Linked DNA regions of Homo sapiens: region 1 is linked to region 2. The links are contacts of gene promoters, found by promoter capture Hi-C in blood cells and fetal thymus (Javierre and others, 2016). All regions are on one chromosome and are shown on one strand. The core of a region is centred on a gene start or on the middle of the fragment in contact, and the rest is flanking DNA. Distances in the headings are between cores, read along the strand shown.

Region 1 (4,698 bases), core at 873-3,372, 290 kb after region 2:
TAAATTTACAAATTTTTTGTCCATTCCCCACACAGCAACACTGTCCTCGGTCAGCTCCTGCTGTTTTCTTTACAGCCAAGGTCTCTGCAGACAGCAGGCCCCCATGCTTTCGCCGCAATCTTCTGTTTCTGGTCTTTCTAAGAGGCTGCCTTCTTTTCTGCCCCTCACTTCCAGCTATCAAGATCACATAACCCTCAGCCCAATCGATCCAGCCAGTGCACCATCCCCTCCAAGCCTAGGCATCCTCCAAGCCTGTGCTGACACTGGATGCTTTCTGCCACACCCCGGGATGGGACAAGGCCCAAGGTTATTTTGAGGAGGGTGGGGATTTCCTGTGGTCGTCTGAGGACAGGTGGCATGGCTGTTCACTCAGGACAATTAAAGGCCTTTCTCCTCGTCTCACCCTTAGTATTTTCCTGGCGTTCTTATTGCCTGAGCATTCCCAGGACTGTCTCTCAAAGCACTAGAGTGCTGCCAAAGATGCATTCTTTTGTGTGCTTTCACAGGATCAGTGATAAAAATCAAAATGATTGGCATCTTGATAACATGCCAAGGCCTCATTTTGACTATGGAGACAACATGCCTCCCAGCAAGCTTTTTTGGCACTCTAGAAAATAACCTACCTTCCAGGTGCCCCACCAGGACCCCTTTTGTTCTGTGATTAGAGTCCTTGCTGGGCTACTGGCAGTCCTATCAGACTTCCTGAGGGTCAGTGGGCATGGGACAGAAGGCTGCTGGCCCTATCTCTCCAACCCCCCAAATACCCCAACCCCAATCTAGAGGTCAAGTGGCTGCAGGTTGGAGAAACTTGTTTAGAACCTGACAGAGCCCCCAGAGTCCCCTTGCGATGGCACTCCAGGCCCCTCTGAGCCACCACTGTTACCAATGCACTTTTCTATCCCGGGGGTAACATTTGTGATTTCCAGCCTACCTATAGGGCTGCCTTCTATGGTAGCCACTCTGGACTTAAATCATGATCCACACTGTGTAAGGATCTAGAACTGTGGTCTTGCTATTGTAGTACCTTGGAATCTTATTTCAGAATATTTATGATCCTCAGGAATTCCCTGGCTCAAGTTAATTCCATGTATTATTTGTTCTTGCAAGATAGATGCTGATTTTCTTACCATAGAATTTAACATTACGCCCTATCTTCCCTCCTGTGTTTCTAGATAACTCTGCAGCTGCTGAGGGAGGACTACACTAGAAAATAGTGATAATAATAAATATGATTATTATACAGTAATCATAATAAATATGATTACTAATAACGGTTCCCTTGGACTGGAGAGGGAAGAAGCAGAAGAAATAGAAGGAAAGGCAATAACTAAGAGGAGAGAAGGAAAAGAGAATTGAAACATCAGCTCTAAGAACAGAAAGATGATCCCCTTTCTCATCAGCCCCGCACTCGCACAAAATGAGAGACCCAAATGCTCCCACCGCAAGGCACAGGGGAGAATGGAGTGGGTGCCCTGGAGCTGGAGGCTGAGGCACGGGGAGAATGGAGAGCAGAACATGCACATGGAGGACCCTCCATGGGAAGACTCCAGGCAGGAGGGGCACATGGGCAGGAGCCTGCCTGGTGGCTGGGAGCAGGTTCTGCTGGCTTCTATCCTGCAGAGCTATCCCAAGGGGACTAGCTCCATCCTCTCTCCTTGGATCACTGAGTTCCAGTGTCTCACTCAGCCTGAAAGGCACATACCACCATGCCAGTGCAAGGCCATCACCATGTCCCTGAGAGGGGACCTGTGTTGGTTAACACTGTGCAGGTCCATCAGAGACTGAGAATGGATATTTTACCATACAGCATTGCCTGAAGTCATAGAATACCTTGCTAAGTAAAAAAGAAAGAAAAGACCACACATCTTCCTACTACCCAAAACTAAGCCCTGCAAACATTTTGGTGCATGTAGTTGCAGTTTTGTTTTACACGTGTGTGTGACCATAAGTAATTATTCAAATTAAAAAATGGAAATGGCCAGGCGTGGTGGCTCATGCCCGTAATCCCAGCACTTTGGGAGGCCAAAGCGGGTGGATCACCTGAGGTTAGGAGTTCGAGACCACCCTGGCCAACATGGTGAAACCCCATCTCTACTAAAAATGCAAAAATTAGCCCGGTGTGGTGGCAGGCACCTGTAATCCCAGCTACTCGGGAGGCTGAGGCAGGAGAATTGCTTGAACCCGGGAGGCAGAGGTTGCAGTGAGCTGAGATCACGCCATTGCACTCCAGCCTGGGAGACAAAAGCCAAACTCCATCTCAAAAAAAAAAGGAACTGTGTTGTGCATAACTGCTTTTAAAACTTGTATTTCTTTACTAGACCAGTGTTATATCATAGAAAAATTAGAAAATACCACTCATAAAACAAATGAATCAATATCTCCAATAACCCCCAGCACCCAAAAGTGAGCATGACTGATATTTATTGATGGGTATTCAAATGGATATATTATACATATTTTAACCCCAAACTGGGTACCTGCTTCTTAGCACCCTGCATTCCTGCACTCAGCAGCTCTTAGGCAGTTCCCTCCCTCTGCAGAAGGTCATAGAGGGCTTCTCACGGCAGGTGTGTGAAGGCTGTATTCTTGATGCGTGGGTCAGACATCAGCTGCACAGGATATTGAAATCTATCAAGGCCAAAGACCTAATGGAGATGGGGGAGGGAGGATTGGATCTGCTATATTTCCCTTCCCAAGTTTATCATCTCCAGACACATATCAAAACCAGACCGAACTTTCCGCCCCTCCTGGCAGAAACATCTCTGCTTTTGTGTCTGAGATTTCAGATGAGGCTGATAAGGAACAGAACACAACTTTAGAGGATGAACAACTCAATTCGTCTCAAGTCATAACTGCAAACGGCTTCGTATTTCCTGGGTTTATTTGATGTCTTTGGTCCGAAAATGAATTCTGAGATCCAATTAGCAGGAAGGATATTGCTCCCGTGTAATGCTGCTCCAAGAGCTGTCACAACATATGGCTGAGTTAAAGCTGCAGCCAGAACCCCTCTGAAGTCAGAACATCCAGAGGCTTGCCAGAGAGGAAAAGATCTCACCAGAGGTCGGGGAATCACCAAGGACAGGAACCACCCATGGGTCAAAATGTATTCGGCAGCTCTCACAGTCAGTGGAAAGTGTTAAGGTCTTCCAGAATGGATCGTGACTTAGACTGGGTTCCCTAGAAGCAGAGCCTGAGATGGAGAGTCTCATCCAAGCGATGAATTGGGGCATGCTTTCAGGAGAAGGGGAGTGAGGGAAGCAGAATGGGGCAGGGGAAGTAGCAAAGCAAGCACGTGGTCTCAGCTGATGTGGGCTTCAGCCTGACCCCAGGGGAACCTCTGGAGCAGGCCGTGCACCACAGTTGCTGCACCTTGAGACAAAGGGCTGGTCTTTTGTATTTCCACTTTAACCAATCACGGGTCAAATTCTAGGTAGAGGAGTCAGCACAGCCTCCCTGGCAGCTTCCGTTTAGCTGGGCCCAGCTCTCTAGAAGGGGAGGCAGCTGGGAGAAGTCTGCAGCCTACACTCAGAGCAGCTGTAAGAGGAATGTGGATGGGGTGCCTGCAGCATTCACTGCAGACCTCACAGTGTTCTTCAGTGCCATTCCCATCAATGGTGGAGTGGGGGGTGCCCAGAGGACATGAAGCTTAAATGTGCCCATCAAAGTTTCAACTCCCTCTCCGGCCAACAATGCTGACCACCAGGCCTTGCCAGTCTCGAGGAGATCTGGCTGGGTGGTCTTGTCTCTGGTGTCCTGCACTGGGGCCCACTGAGGTACAGCTGGCTTTGTCATGCCGGCCCTCCCTAATGAGGTCAGAAGTCCCTGCCATCTGTCATTGCGTGCAAAGTCCTGGTTCCCCAGTATGTGCATTATAAGGGAAGCCCCTCAGTATTAGGGAATTTGCTGAGGCCACCAGCAGGCTGGTAATAGCATGGGACAGGACCCCAGGACACCTGCTTGCAGTACCTGCCCTGCCATGCATGAGCTGTTTGGCTGCAGCTTGAGCTTCCGTCTCCTCCTCTACAGAACAAGGGGATTGGGGCAGGTAAGGCCCCAGTCCCTCGCAGGCCTGCAGTTTTGTGTTCAGGCTTTCCCTCCCCATCTTCCAGGCCAAGTCAGACCACATCCACCACAAAGACACTTCCCTCGAGGATTTTTCCAGCAGGTAGACTGAAACAGAGGCCAAGTCCTCTCATTTTTCTGAGTGACTTGAAGGGGAAACATGTACAAGTAAGAAAAGAGGATGCTTAAGATATCAGAATGTATTTTGCCCTGGATTGTCTAAATTGGCTGTTTGCGTGGCTCTAATAATCTATAAAATCATTATGATTTTTGCATTTTTCTATTCAAATGACCAGGGCCATGGAGTAAAGATTTTTTTTCAAGTCAATGAGGTAAACAAGAAAGAAGAAATGTTTCACATTTTAAAAATGATTTCTTTGTCAGTTAGCAATGAATATCATGCTCTAAAGTAAGGAAGAGAAGAAATTAGCATGGGTTGTAGATGCCAGGAACTTGACCTTCCAAATCCTCACAGCAATCTAATGAGGGCTGTGCCTCCAAAGTGCACAGTGGGGCAGCTAGGTTGTCCTCCCTGGGTGTGGGGAGAATCCTGGAATTTTACCATCTTGGTGTCTCAGAGATGTGCCCACACAGGCCTTCAAGAACTCTCTGTTGAATTGCATTATGAGCAAAAAT
Region 2 (4,345 bases), core at 1,517-4,016:
AAAGAATGATTCATGGCGATATCTGCTGATAACACACGTTAAGTATTTCGTGTTCAGGGTATCAGGTAGGAGCACTCATTTCCTGGAGATCCAGTGATGTTCCCCACAAACATCACCAGTACATGGCTTTGGTTGCTCAAGGTAAATTTTTAAAGGTGTTTTTAGGGCAAAAGTTAGGAGAGAATGATCTGGATTCAAAGATAAAGATAGGTAGGATGATCAAAATCAGCAGCATTGGCCAGGCGCGGTGGCTCACGCTTGTAATCCTAGCGCTTTGGGAGGCCGAGGCAGGTGGATTGCCTGAGCTCAAAGTTTGAGACTGGCCTGGGCAACATGGTGAAACCCCGTCTCTACTAAAATACAAAAAGTTGGCCAGGTGTGGGGGCGCGCACCTGTAGTCCCCGCTGCTTGGGAGGCTGAGGCAGGGGTTGCTTGAGCCCAGGAAGCGGAGGTTGCAGTGGGCCGAGATCACGCCACTGCACCCCAGCCTGGGAGACAGAGCGAGACTCTGTCTCCAAAAAAAAAAAAAAAAAAAAAAATCAGCAGCATTAAGCCTCAAGAAGGGGCTGGGAATCCAAGGAATCCTATTCTTAGGTCTTGTATTTTATCAAGTGGCACAACACTGCCACCTTCCGAGAACGGACAGAATTGCAACCTGCGAAAAACTGACTAACCCCAGCTGTTCAGCCTAAGGCTGCAACTTTTGCCTCGTCTTTTATAACTTTTTTTTTTTTAAGGTAAACTGTTGAGGTATAGCACACATATTGAAAAGTGTAAGTCCTAGCGGTATAATGATGAATCTTCACAATATAAAACACACTTGTGTAACTGGCATTCAGCCCAATTAGCAGAACGTGAAATCAACCTTCCATCCGCTTCTAGGCACTGTCTCCTCACTATGGGCCCCTATAGCCTGACTGCTAACACTATTATTTCATCTGCCTGTTTCTAACCCGCTTGTAGCCATTTCTTAGTGAGAGCTCTCAGGGGATGTCCACATGGGAGGCTTTCCCCAGAACTGGCAGGCAGGTCCTCAGCAGTGCACCCACACCAAGACCTGCTAGTTACATGAATATATCCTAATGTCTGAAAGCTTCCAACAATGAAACTTGACAGTTGAAGCTCTTCTGGACTGTCTTCTCTGAGGGTTGCAGTGCAGCAGGGGCCATCTCAGATGGATCATCTAGAGCAGGGATGGCAAAACCTAGCCAACTATCCCCAGTGCCCTTGCCTACAACCACCCAGACACCATTCATCGACAGCAGCACTCCTGGTGCTCAGAACGAGTCTCTGAATTCTTCTTCGTACCATATAATCAGAAAGCACAGAGTTATTATGTGAAATGTATCACTTATTTCTTTGGTATTTCTTGAGTGCTTGCTATGTGCCTGGCACTGAGCTAGGCACTGGGGATATAATGTTGGGCAAAGCAATCTCTGCCCTTGGGGAGCCAGCCTGTTTACGATCACTGAACCAAACCAATGCCTGACAACTCTCAGAGCTGTGAGGGAGGAAAAGAAAGAGTGCAGTCATATTTGAAGAGCTCCTCCTCCCAATCAAGTCCAAATTCCTCCGCATAGCCATCCAGGACTTCTCCCTGTCCCCTGCCACTCCCTCTGCTCTTTCAAATGTTGCCTGCATGTGCTTCCACGTCTTTACTCACGCCATTTCCCAAACTGTTATCAAAACTCTAGTCCTCCTTCCTGGCTCAACTCAAATGCCATCTCCACTGAGAAGGTATCTCCTGGTCAGAATTAGAATTAGTTGTTTTTTCCTTCCTGATGCATCCTGTGTAGTGCCTGTAATTGTATCTAGCAGCTATTACATTTTATTGTGTATTTAGGTAAGCTGCTTGCCTGTCTTTCTCCTGTGAGGAGTAGGAGGATGATTTTTTTTTGAGACAGGGTCTTGTTCTGTCACCCAGGCTGGGGTGCAGTGGCACAATCACAGCTCACTGCAGCCTCAGTCTCCTGGGCTCAAGTGATATTCCCACCTTACCCCTGCAAGCAGCTGGGACCACAGGCGCGCACTACCACACCCAGCTAATTTTTTGTATTTTTGGTAGAGATGAAGTCTCACTATGTTGCCCAGGCTGGTCTTGAACTCCTGAGCTCAAGCAATCCTCCTGCCTCGGCCTCCCAAAATGCTGGGATTACAGGCATGAGCCACTGCTCCTGGCCTTGAAAATCCTTAAAGGCCACTCTCAGTCTCCAGTTCCTAACAGATGCTCAGTAATGTTAATTGCCTTGAACTCAATCAAGCTTGTTTCAGTGGATGAATAAACCTACCAGCAGCAGGGGTGGGGGATAATGTGAGTAGGACAAAGTGGAGGCAAGAGAGGAGGGAAGAAAGAAATGAGTGAAGTGGGGCACTGGATGCTATACTTTCCAGCTAGTGCCACCATCTTTTTGCAGGGAGGGGTGCATTGAAAGATCCCAAGCAGCTGAAGCAAGAGAATGAGAGCAGGGGAATGCCCCGATGAGTGCTCACATGGAATTTCCCAGTGGGGAAAGGGGCGCTTCCCAGCTCCTAGAATCCTGCTCATTCCCAAGTGTTTTCCCTCCACTTTTCCAGGGAGCCAGGGAATGGGCTATAGGGAGTTGGGAATCTGGTTTTCACTCTTGGCTGAAGCTGGCCATGTCTACTCTCATGCGTAGTTTAGCTCTGAATGAGTCACACTTGTTTATTCATTCAACATGTATTTACATGATAATTGGGTACACAGCACTAGGCAATTAATTGGAGAGCTTACAATAAGAACAGGCAGCCCAGGACATGCTCATAAATAACCATCAGCACTACAAGAAAGACGTACCAAATGTGATTTGGAGGCGCAAGGTGCACAGGAATGAAGGACAAAGGACATCAAGGGCCCTGCTGGACTTGGAACCCAGGCCTGCTGGAGCAGAGATCACATCACATTGCCAAGTTCATTATTCAGATTCACAATTGGGGTAATGTGTTTCCCTTTTGTTCACTCATTCATTCACTCAACAGATGGTACTTGGGAACAGACTTGCGTATGCAACTGAGTTATTCATTCATCATAGTGACTGTGCACAGCAGGGGCCTTTATAAGTGAGTGGAAAATCTGCAACTCTAAACCACTAACAAACCGTTCTGACTCAGGGACCATCAAACGCGGGAGTATTAGGCAGGGCCTCTGCCTTGAAGAAGGCCCTGGATTTCTGAGTCAGCTTTCTTCCTACTCCTTCGGTACATCCCTGGAGGTAGATCATGCTTGCTTGCACTGAAGCACAGCTATATGTAAGCACAGTGATGAAAACTGGGGGGAGATCTTCACAATTTCTTCATTAGTTTAGACTGCACTAACTCAGAAATTGCAACAACTGATAGCTGCTGGGCATTGAAGGCCACATTTGTCCCACTTGGAAGAAGGAAAGAAGGAAGGGAGGGAGGCAGGGAAAGAGGGGAGGAAAGGTAGGGAGGGAGGAGAGGGAGGAAGGGAGGGAAGGAAGGGAGTTGCTAATTATTAGGATAAACAAGGAAATTCAGAACATTGATTGATTGGCCATGTTAAGTGCTCTTAAAAAAATCACTATATACAAGGAATGTGCTAATTACAGTATGAGCAAAGAATATCAGGATGTATCAGAGCCCCACCTTCTTGCTGCAGATGACATTTACCTATTCATGAAGCCCCAGAGAGCCTGCTGCCCACTCCCCTGACCTGGTGCGAGAGTGGCCTGCCAGGCTGCAGATCTTTGAAGGCCATAGATCTCTGAAAATGGTCTCCAAATTGGACTTTTCATTAAATCAGACTAAGTTTACCTTCCTCTTCTTCCTTGTTCTGTGCCCAGGGCCATCATGTCACATAATTAGCCTAGTTTCTAAGTATTAGCCATGGCTCATTCTTGAAATATCACCATTCCCATTTCCTAGCAGCCAGTTAGTGGCGCAGAAGGAGGGTTTACTAATACAGCAGGACCCAAGTAAAGCTTCTCTTCCCTTCCTGTTCCTTTTCCCAGTAGCCCCGTTTCTGGCATGATCAGAGTAACAGAGAAGAAAGCTCTGTGGATAGGGGCTTGCTGTGCTCTCCACGGTCAGCAGGCGGCCTGCCCTTCTCATGGGAGCTCCCTGAGCAGCTGCTTGCTTCTGACAGCCACCACTTTCTGTTGATTCCAAACTGAAGGGAGAAATTCAGTTTGGGGAATTTAGTGTCTAAGTTGCATTACAGAGCTACAACAAAAAGTGACAAGATTCCATGTTTACAGCGGTCTCCCACAAAGGGAGAGAAAAGGCTTCCTGATCTCATTCAGTGAAGATGGGCCATGACATGTTCCCACGCTCTAATGTGCCCCCTCTCTTTCAACCTGGTGCTAAC

What was found. Contacts are between HindIII fragments. The CHiCAGO score rates a contact against its expected background, and 5 or more counts as called.
Region 1: a fragment that was not itself captured here is called in contact with the fragment with the promoter of LARS2-AS1 in region 2 in 6 of 17 cell types (megakaryocytes, endothelial precursors, M0 macrophages and 3 more); the score reaches 13.3 in megakaryocytes.

What each region holds. Positions count from the first base shown.
Region 1 is chr3:45,214,481-45,219,178 of GRCh38, reverse strand. LOC101928636 (a long non-coding RNA gene) reads right to left here. Exons shown (of 4, transcript XR_001740675.2): 4 at 2,405-4,698. Among named protein-coding and RNA genes, the nearest start is that of TMEM158, 9.5 kb to the left of the region's middle. RefSeq lists enhancers at 3,094-3,594, 3,595-4,095. The HindIII fragment of the contact is 3,051 bases long and covers 597-3,647 here.
Region 2 is chr3:45,507,966-45,512,310 of GRCh38, reverse strand. LARS2-AS1 (LARS2 antisense RNA 1) reads left to right here and starts at 2,766. Exons shown (of 4, transcript NR_048543.1): 1 at 2,766-2,954. The region is part of intron 15 of LARS2 (leucyl-tRNA synthetase 2, mitochondrial); the gene reads right to left. RefSeq lists a silencer at 2,400-2,694 and an enhancer at 3,521-4,345. The HindIII fragment of the contact is 1,698 bases long and covers 2,264-3,961 here.